Regions from separate parts of the Homo sapiens genome. Here regions 2 and 3 are each linked to region 1. Evidence: promoter capture Hi-C in 16 types of primary human blood cells and fetal thymus (Javierre and others, 2016). All regions are on one chromosome and are shown on one strand. The core of a region is centred on a gene start or on the middle of the fragment in contact, and the rest is flanking DNA. Distances in the headings are between cores, read along the strand shown. Region 1 holds the start of APOBEC2 (apolipoprotein B mRNA editing enzyme catalytic subunit 2). Region 2 has its middle 21 kb from the start of NCR2. Region 3 has its middle 18 kb from the start of NCR2.

Region 1 (3,303 bases), core at 738-3,237:
CCAGTCTGGTGACAGAGTGAGACTCCATCTCAAAAAATAAATAATAATAATCCTTTTAGTAGTAAATCCAAAAGGTAGGGGACCATATAATTTATTGTCCACAGCGGGACACCTTTGGGAGTAAAGGGGTGCTATTAGTAATTATGTCTGGACAACAGGAAGAAACCATGACTGGCAAACCAAAATGCTGGGCATCACACTAACAGAGCACTCTGCTGCTCAGACTCTCTGGAGGAGTGAGCCCTAAATCTTCCAAACCATCTTGACTCCTCTTCTTTAGTCAGACCCTCCAAAGGGTGCCCTACCCTCTCATCCCCACCAGCCAAACCCATTTGGAGCTGTTTTCAGATCCGTTCCCCAGTGTTCTTAGGTTCCTCATTTTCAACCTACAAGTGACCCTGACCCCTTCCTTCTGCTTCCCTGAGAATGGCCTAGAGTGTTTGCACTGCTCCAAACACGAAGACTTTTGCCTCTGCTAAGTACCCATCATGAGAGCTGCAAAAATCATCTAGCCATCCTCTGCTGCTGTTCCGGCTCAGGGTCTTTTCTATGGGCCCCCATCATCTCTCTCTGGCCTCAGTAGGCTTCTCACTGGTCCCCTGCCTCTGCTCTTCCCAAGTGCTCAGACCACCTGTCTCACCTGTTCAGAGACAATGGCTTCCCACCTCAGTCTGAGAAAAAGCAAGGTACTTATGACAGCCCATAAGGCCCCAGTCCCTTTTACCCTTGTTATCTCTCTGGCTTAATCTCTTAGAACTCTTCAGTCACCCAGATGTATGTCCTCGCTAGTTCCTCAAACACCCCAGGAATGCTCCCTTCTCAGAGCCTTTGCTCACGTTGTTCCCTTCCTTGGAACGCTTTCCTCTTAGACAACCAAATGATTAGTTCCCTTGCCTTCTTCACGTCTTCTTCAATTGTCTCCTTTTCAAAGTCCTTCACCCTGGCCATCCTATAAGTACGTAACCCCACCTCTTAGCACTTCCTGTTTCCATTTCCTGTCTTTTCTCCTTGGCACTTGTCATCACAAAATAGACCATGTATTTTACTTACCTTATTTGTTGTTCAGTTCCTCAAGCTCCACAAATCATCACAGCAGGGATTTTCATTTGCTTTGTTCTTTTGCCATATTCCCAGTACCTGAAACAGCACCTGGCATAGAGTAGATACTCAATAAATATTTGTTAAGAAGAATAAAAGACTGACTGTGAGGGCACATAGCATGGAGGTTGAATATTTGGCCTGAAGTACAAAAGCCTGCATTTTAATCCCGGCTCTGCACACTTCTGTGACTCAGTTTACCTGTAACTTGGGATAATACACATCGCCTCCCATGGCTGTGGCAAGCATGCATCTGATTTCATTTAAACCCCTAAACCCACTGCCTGGCCTGTTTCAAAATCTCTGAGCTAAGTAAATGGCAGCTATTGTTACTCAGGGAGGCTCCTGATCGATTTGACATTACATTATGGCTTTGTAACAGGCAAATCAGCACCCACCGCTTTTGAGTCATAACTCACACACTTACTCCCCAAATTGTCAGTTTTGATCCCACCTCTGCCAGGACCCCTCCTTTCCTGAACCCACGTTCCCCCAAAGCAAATGGCCTGGGTCTTTTTGCAGTCAGCCCCTTTCAACACACATCTCCTCCTGTTTAAATCTCAGAAGGCCACCCTCCTAAATCTCAGGATGCCTGCCCTGGGGCCCCTTCCACACTCTCCCCCAGTGGAGCTAGGGAATTTGGGTGGGAAACAAAGGGGAGAACATAAGGTGAGCTGAGAGGGAGAGGGAGAAGAGAGCAGGCCAAGCCATACCCACCTGCCAGGTTCCTGTCTTTGCCTACTGATAAATAGGGGATACTAATGGCCAGATTTTCCATTCCCCCACCCCAGCACCCGCTGTCACTCAATTAAAAAAAGATAGAGGGAGAGAGCCTGGGGGAGGGGCAGGAGGCCTTGGCTATAAAGCCTGTGGCTAAGTGGGGAAAGCACGAAGCCTGGCCTGCTGGGTCCTTTTCCCGTCATCCCCAGCCAGATTTAGCTGCTGACAGCTGCTTGGGACTCTGCCGCCAGGGCCTGGCCCAGACCTGCCTGCCTCTCTCCTCTCCCTCAGTGACTCCTGAGCCACAGCCCCTCCATGGCCCAGAAGGAAGAGGCTGCTGTGGCCACTGAGGCTGCCTCCCAGAATGGGGAGGATCTGGAGAACCTGGACGACCCTGAGAAGCTGAAAGAGCTGATTGAGCTGCCGCCCTTTGAGATTGTCACAGGGTAAGCCTCAGATGTGGGTCAGGGTTCTGCTCCCTAGAAGAGTGCAGCCTTGGGTTAGGCTGTGGAAATTCAGGATGGTTATATTAGGCGTCAGGGACAGCTACAACCCTGCAGCAGTGAGAGTGCACCAGTGGGCCCGGCAGGGGTGGTAGGGGACCCAGCAGCAAATTCTCTTGGCTTCTCAGGGTGACACCTTGGGCTCTCTAATCAGGGAGAGGTAGGAGGAGCTCCTTGGAGGCAAAAGCCCAGAGAATAAAACCACCCTTCAGGCCTCCTGGTATTGGGATGGCCACCTGCCTCTCTGGGTAGAAGCTTAGTCCCAGGGAGTTTGGCGAGGACAGAGGATGAGACTGGCACATCTATATGTGGCTCCGTTCAAAGCAACCCTTCCCCTCAACTTCTCTGTTCCTGAGTGGGTCTCTCCGCTAGCCATAGGCCTCTAGCCCTTTCTTTAGAGCTTCTTCCTGGAGTAGATGCTCCCAAGACAGGAAAGATAGATCCATCCTTTCCCAAGACTCAGAAGCAGCTTTTTTCTTATTAAATCTTTTGAGTCTCCTCAGGGGCTGTCCCACAGAGAAACAGAGAAATTACATGCAGATAACGCAGCCCAGGAGCTTATGGACACAGGAGCTGTTCCAACATGCTCAGGCATTGCCTGGAGGAACTGGGACCCAAAGAAAAGGGTCTACAGACTGCAAGGAGGGGGCTGTGTGCAGGGTACCTCTGTCTTATCCAGATTATGCCATCTCCAGGAATAAAACTAAGTAGTCTTCTTCCTCTTCCCTTTCTATTCCTGTAGTGGAAGACCCTTCTAAATCCTGAGCAAAGAATAAAAAGAGAATCTATGAGGCCATATTTCCTCCTTGAACCAAACGTTCCCTTCATGGGGTCTCCAGGAATGACCACAGGCAGAGTGGGTGCGAGACTAAGAGAAGTTTCAGGAAGAAAGGAGGCATGATGCTTTCAAGGGGGAAAGGAAGCCCTGAGTGGCAATTTGGACTTGATATTTCAAGCTTGACAAGTGATTTTCCAGTCAGCC
Region 2 (3,378 bases), core at 730-3,229, 260 kb after region 1:
CCTTGAAAAAAAAAAAAAGAACAAGATATACAAATCTGTAGAAAGACTAATCAAGAGACAAGTTTAAAAGTGCAAAGAGAAAATAAAGAGAACAGGCCAGGCACATTGGCTCACGCCTGTAATCCCAGCACTTTGGGAGGCCGAGGTGGGTGGATCACTTGAGGTCAGGAATTTGAGACCAGCCTGGCCAACATGGTGAAACCCTGTCGCTACTAAAAACACAAAAAATCAGCCAGGCCTGGTGATGCACGCCTGCAATCCCAGCTACTCAGGAGGCTGAGGTGGGAGAATTGCTTGAACCCAAGAGACAGGGGAGGTTACAGTGAGCCAAGATTGCGCCACTGCACTCCAGCCTAGGCAACAGAGTGAGACTCTGTCTCAAAAGAAAAAAAGAAAAGAAAAGAGAACAAATGAGAAATACCTGAACACCCAAAAGAGACTTTCACAATAACAATACTATGAATAATCATACACTAATAAATTGAATAACTTAAATAAAATGGATACATTTCTGGAAGATATAAAATATTAAAATTGGTGTTGAGATTAAAAGCTTGACTAGAGCAACAACAATTCAAAAATCAACATCCAGTCATATAACCATCTCAGCTGCTAGAGAGGTGAGGGGAGGGCAACTTCAGGCACAGAAGAATTTTCAAGGTATAGATATTTCTTAATTCATACAATTTATTCCAGGAAATAGAAAAGAGGGGAGAAGCTGCTCATATAATTTCTGTGGCTAGAACAATATTAATACCAAAACCACACAAGGACCAAATAAGAATAATGGGTTATCAGCCCATTTTTATTTATGATCATAGATTCTGTAATCTAAGATCATCGTTCAGATTCTCAGGGAAAGATGGCAGATGGAACATACACCTTTATTTCTGTTCGCTCCTAAAACCCACAAAAATGAACATAAAGAAATGCAGGAAACATAGGAACGAGGGAAACTAGAAGGTAAAATAGCAAGAAAATTTGGGGAGCTGAAAAAAATATATAAGTAAGTGGGAAATGACTTAGAAGTGAGAAAACAGAACCTTTCATCAGAGTTGAGGAAGGCAGAAGTCAAGTCTTATTTACACAACAGTATTGCCAAGATGGCTGAGAAAGTGGAGGTGGTTTAGGGGAGTCCGATTAAGAAGAAATGGTAGAAAGTTGTTTAAGAAGCAATGAGGAACCCAGATCCCCTTGCCACTTTCTGTAGATGAGCGACCTTGACCCACCTTGGCAGACAACTGGGAATGAATGCCTTAGAGAGGTTGCAAAGAAGGCTGGGTTTCTGTGTGTGGTAGGGAAGGGGTGGGCAATAGGTATAGGTGAGGATGGTGACAATGTCCTGAAAACCATGGGATTATGTGAAGAACATGTACCAGAAGCTGAGAAACACTCCAGCCCTCTTCTCCTATTTGGATTCCAGAAAGTTGGCAGCCAGATCTTCTTCCTCCAGACAAGAGATGGGGTGAGTCTTCCCTGGGGATCCTGAGCAGCCCAAGAGAGAAGGCTGAATGATATTGACAAGGCACTTCCTCAAGCAAATGGCCAAGGAGTCACCCTCCTGTGAAACTCCCAGGGCACCAGCCCCACTGTGGGCTCACAGCATCCAATTATCTTTAGAATTTTGTTACCCAGGCCTGAGAAAAAGCTCTCAAGTGAAAGAGAAGAAAGAAACTAAACAGAGAATAGTGAAGGCAACTGGGAAGAAACAGAGACCACCTAAGGAACCATAAATAAAAACAGAAAACTTTTTCTCCAAGGGCTGTTTCCAAAACAGAGGGAGGCAGAGAGAGAATGAGAACAACAGAGAAATGGGAGAGAAAAAAAAAGAAAAAGACAACTGATCCAGGAGGTGAATGCTTGAATAAAAGGAGTTCTAGAAAGACAGAACATAGAAAACAGAGAGGGGAAAATCATGCATGAACTAATTCAAGAAATTTTCCTGTGAATTTCTAGATCGAAAAGGCCACTCACTGTGCGGAGCAAAGGGATGGAAATAGACACACTCCAAGGCTCATCCCTGTGACATTCCAGGACACCGAGAACAAAAAGAAAACGCTGATAAAGTGAAGACAACAGATCACATATTGCCATAGTTATCATAATTGCTCCTGACTTTTCAACAACAATAGGAGCAAGAAGGTAACATAGCAATGCCTTCAAAATCCTGAGGACAAATTGTTTCCAACTCAGAATTTTTTATATCAGTCAAACTGTCATGGTAAAACAGGCATTTTTAAATATAAAAGTTGTCAAAATGTATTTTCCATTCCCCCTTTCTCCCGTAGTTACTCAAGGATGGGTTCCACCAGTACAAAGGAGTAAACAAAGATCCAAGAATCAAGAAAACGTTGTAGAGGAGACAAAGAGAAGCCCCAGAAACATGAGGAAGAGACAGCTGTGTACCAACTGGTGGAGGCAGTGCATCCATACAGGGCAAAAAAAGGCTGCAGGCATGACTTTTTAGGAAGATGCTCAACAAAATACTTGCTGAGAAAAAAAAAAACAAAACTTAGAAATGCTGGTTCCAAAACATGTGCTTTTGTTTGTTTGTTTTTTCTTGTTCTGACTTTTAATTCATTACACCACTGCTCTCCAAGAAAAGGCTATCAATTATTCCCTTCCAACAATGCATAAGAATGACTTTTTCCCTACTTCTCCAGGACAGAATATAATTATCATTTATTTTAATCTTTTTTGAACTGTTAAAAAGATAAACTGAGGCACAGTAAAATTTTAAAGAGTTTTGGTGAGTTTTTTTTAGCATGAACAATTTATGAACTGAGCAGCTCCGAACCAGAAATAGTTTGGGAGCTCCACTGAGGAACACAAAGAGGAGACTTTTATAAGACAGACACAGAAGTAAAGCAAAGTATTTAATTGGTTACTGTTATACAATTGCTTTTTTTGGTCTCTCAACTTGGAAAGCCCCTCGTTATCTAAGTTTGTATAAATAGTAACTTCTGATTGGTTGAGCTTAAGTTCTGCTTTTAAAAATATATATATAGATATAGATATATATAGGCATTCACAAGAAATAGCTCAAGTTAAGTTTGGTTATGTTTGCAAATCAAGCAAGGTTTAGGTCACTTACAAATCATAACTTCTTTTGTCCCCTCTGGGATTCTTCAGGTCTGGTCTCCATTTTAATTTACTTTAACAATCCCACCGCGTTGGGTCACCCTCTCAGCAAGCTAAGAAGAAGGTGGTAGCATTCCTCTCAGTTACCACTAGTGAAATAGTCACTGGAACAAAGAGTCATGTAATCTTATCCTCAACAGTTGTATTGGGATATAAGATTACATGGCATCATTACCTGCATCATGGGCTTCAGTGGTAGGGTTGTTGAGTTCTTCAAGTCAATTAATGATGATGGCA
Region 3 (3,571 bases), core at 470-2,969, 300 kb after region 1:
CCGGGCGTGGTGGCTCATGCCTGTAATCCCAGCACTTTGGGAGGCCGAGGCAGGCAGATCACCTGAGGTTGGGCGTTCGAGACCAGCCTGACCAACATGGAGAAACCCTGTCTCTACTAAAAATGCAAAATTAGCCGGGCGTGGTGGCACATGCCTGTAATCCCAGCTACTAGGGAGGCTGAGGCAGCAGAATTGCTTGAACCTGGGAGGTGGAGGTTGCAGTGAGCCGAGATCGCGCCATTGCACTCCAGCCTGGGAAACAAGAGAGAAACTCTGTCTCAAAAAAAGAAAAAAGAAAGTCTGGCGACAGCCAAGGTTTCAGACAGACCAGAGTTTCTGCTTATGGTTGAAGTGCTGAACTTGTTGGGTCTAAATGTGAATATGCACTGAGTAGTAGAGTCTATTAAGAAACTATTTTTAATTGCATTGGCTGTGATCATATTAATTTGCTAAGCAGCAAGAGCTCTTGTTTTAGAAATGTATGATAAATTATTTAAGGGTGGAATGTCAGGATATCTGCAATTTATTTAAAAATACTTCCACATAAAAAAAAATACCGTGAGTTAAAAATACAGAAGTGGAGTGGAGCACCTGGCCCCTGAGCTCTGATGATGACAGGGCCTGCTATAGGCCCATCCTGTTCCTCCATGGAAATTAGACAAATGACCCATCTTGCAGAGAGATCACAAAAAGGCACACACACCCCCACCCCCAGCCCCGGGCCTACTGATTACAAAAATGCACCCTAGCCAATACCTGGTAGAATTCCAACCCTGCTGGCCCAAACACCCAGGGACTTCCTGTGGTTATGGGATAACAGCCAACACAGCCACCATCGAAGCAGAGTCCACAGTCTCAGCGAGGTGCTCAAATCTTGGTGCAGCCCTGAACTTGACATTGGTCAGCAGATCTCCACAACAGCTGCACCTAGAGTTGCACACACCACACCAGCTTTCCTGGTGTTTTTCTCTTTTCTTTGTACATTATATGTAAACATCATTTTTCCAATTCTAAGAATCCCGACATTCAATAAAGGGAAATATGTTAGATTCTTGTATCTACTATTTTTTCCCCAACCAACCTTTCTCAAGCATTAGTAGGTAAGAGAGCAGGAGCAAGTGGTCCAGCCATGCTTCCAGGGCTGAGGCTTTCCTCTCTCCTCCTCCTGACTCCCCTCCTCCTGAACAAATCCTATTCCCTCCCAGCACCCTCTCTGAGGATTCCTCGGTCACCACCCCAAGAGCTCAAGGAGAAGCGGCTTGGTTGGGAGGACCCTCTCCTCTGCCTCTTGCTGCTAATGGCACCTGCACCTAGTTTGCAGGTGCCCTCAGCTTCAGATGGGGGACTGGGGAGGAGGACAAGAAAGAAGGCTGGAGAGGGAAGTGGGGCAGGAAGAAGTGACCTTGCAGCCAGAGGACCAGCAGGAGGCTGATCCCAGGGGTGGGTATACATGTGGCCGCTTCCCCTTCCCCAGCCCTCCAGGGCTCCCAGATCTGATGCTCCTGAGGAGAAAAATCTGAGCCTGAGGAACTGAGGGAAGGGAACAGGAAGGGCCTCTGTGGGGAAGGGAGAGCATCTCAGCCAATCACCGTGACCTGCCAGTTACCTGACCAGGCACAAAGCTTAACTATGTCCTTCCCATATTTGACCTGGGACAACACCCTTTCGTCTGGCTTTGCTGCCCTCCCCAAACTGGGCTGCAAGAAAGGAGCTCAGGCACAGTGGTGGGAAACAGTGTTCCCTGCAGCTGTCAGTATTTCCAAAGTTGTCACCAAGTGTCCCCAGGTGAGCTCCTCCCCTGAGGAAATGGCCTCCCCAAGCTTCTGGGAGAAATGCCATCACCTGCCCCCTAGAGAAGGACGGGCCCTCCATATAAACAGCTCCCCCATACAGAGCCAGGAAGGAGGACTGACTGATTTTTCTGCCTAAAACACAATCCTGTGTATGACGAAAGATACTACAAACAATGTTTTTTAAAATGTAAACGGAGGCCAGGCGCAGTGGCTCACGCCTGTAATCCCAGCACTTTGGGAGGCCAAGAGGGGCGGATCATGAGGTCAGGAGTTCAAGACCAGCCTGGCCAACATAGTGAAACCCTGTCTCTACTAAAAATACAAAAATTAGCTGGGCGTGGTGGTGCATGCCTGTAATCCCAGCTACTTGGGAGGCTGAGGCAAGAGACTTGCTTGAACCTGGGAGGCGGAGGTTGCAATGAGCTGAGATCATGCCACTGCTCTCCAGCCTGGTGATAGAGTGGGACTCCATCTCAAAAAAAAAGACAAAAAAGTAAAGCGAGATTTTAAAAATAATATATATGTTATACAAAGATTAATATCCAAACTATAAAAGGAACTTGTGAAATCAATAAGCAAAGGGCAACAACTCAATAGAAGAAACAGAAAAGGATAGAATTGCAATCCAAAGAAACGCCCCATGGAAAATTAATACATGGAAGGCAAGATCAATTTTATCAGTAAGTGGGAAAATGCAAATTAAAACAACAATGGAGGGATCATTTTTCACCTATTAAATTAATACAAATTTAAAAGATTGGTTATTCCCAGCAGTGACGATGTTGTGAGAAAATTGGCATCTCAAAGGATGTCGGTGGGAATATAAATTAGTCTATCCTTTTAGGAAATCAATTAGTCCAGATTTATCAAAATATTAGATGTATATCCACTTTCCACAGACAATTCCATTTTTAGTGTCTGCATGAGAGAATAAATCATGTGTGCACAAAGAGGCATATGTAAAAGGTTATTTGCTGCAACATTTTATATAATAGTGAAACTTAGAAACAAATCAAATGGCTACAAATAGGAAAGGAAGGAAATAAATGAGGCTACATCTCTAGCCTAGGGCACTAAACAGCAGGTTAGAAAGGAGGCAGATATGTGTGTTCTAAATGCACAGAGCAGATTGACTAAACAATTTAGCTCAAAAAAATCAAGCTGCTGAGTGACACACATCACAGTACCTCATTTATATCAGCAAAATTGAAGATAAAGCTATATCCCCAGTGATACGGTTTGGATCTGTGTCCTCACCAAATCTCATGTCTAATTGTAGTCCCCAGTGTTGGCGGTGGGGCTTGGTGGTACGTGAGTGGATCATGGGGGTGAATTTCTCGTGAACAGTTTAGCACCGTCCTCTTGGTACTGTCCTCGAGATAGTGAGTGAGTTCTCATGAGATCTGGTTGTTTAAAACCATTTGTTCTCACTCATAGGTGGGAATTGAACAATAAGAACACCTGGACACAGGGTGGGGAACATCACACACCGGGGCCTGTCATGGGGTCAGGGGACGGGGGAGGGATAGCATTAGGAGATATACCTAATGTAAATGATGAGTTAATGGGTGCAGCACACCAACATGACACATGTGTACATGTGTAACAAACCTGCACATTGTGCACATGTACCCTAGAACTTAAAGTATAATTAAAAAGAAAAGAATTCAGTCCCCCTTTGTCTTCTGCCCTGATTGGAAATTTCCTGAGGCCTCCCCAGAAGTAGAAGCTGCTATGCTTCCTGTACAGCCTGCAGAATCATGAGCCAATTAAACCTC

Evidence for each region. The method cuts DNA at HindIII sites, captures the fragments that hold promoters and counts their contacts. A CHiCAGO score of 5 or more calls a contact.
Region 2: a fragment that was not itself captured here is called in contact with the fragment with the promoter of APOBEC2 in region 1 in 1 of 17 cell types (neutrophils); the score reaches 10.0 in neutrophils.
Region 3: a contact is called between a fragment that was not itself captured here and the fragment with the promoter of APOBEC2 in region 1, in 1 of 17 cell types (neutrophils). The highest score is 7.0, in neutrophils.

The regions. Positions count from the first base shown.
Region 1 is chr6:41,051,215-41,054,517 of GRCh38, forward strand. It overlaps APOBEC2 (apolipoprotein B mRNA editing enzyme catalytic subunit 2), which reads left to right and starts at 1,988. Exons shown (of 3, transcript NM_006789.4): 1 at 1,988-2,264. The coding sequence starts at 2,134. The HindIII fragment of the contact is 6,727 bases long and covers 1-2,574 here.
Region 2 is chr6:41,312,453-41,315,830 of GRCh38, forward strand. No RefSeq gene overlaps it. Among named protein-coding and RNA genes, the nearest start is that of NCR2, 21 kb to the right of the region's middle. The HindIII fragment of the contact is 2,856 bases long and covers 552-3,378 here.
Region 3 is chr6:41,351,813-41,355,383 of GRCh38, forward strand. No RefSeq gene overlaps it. Among named protein-coding and RNA genes, the nearest start is that of NCR2, 18 kb to the left of the region's middle. The HindIII fragment of the contact is 198 bases long and covers 1,621-1,818 here.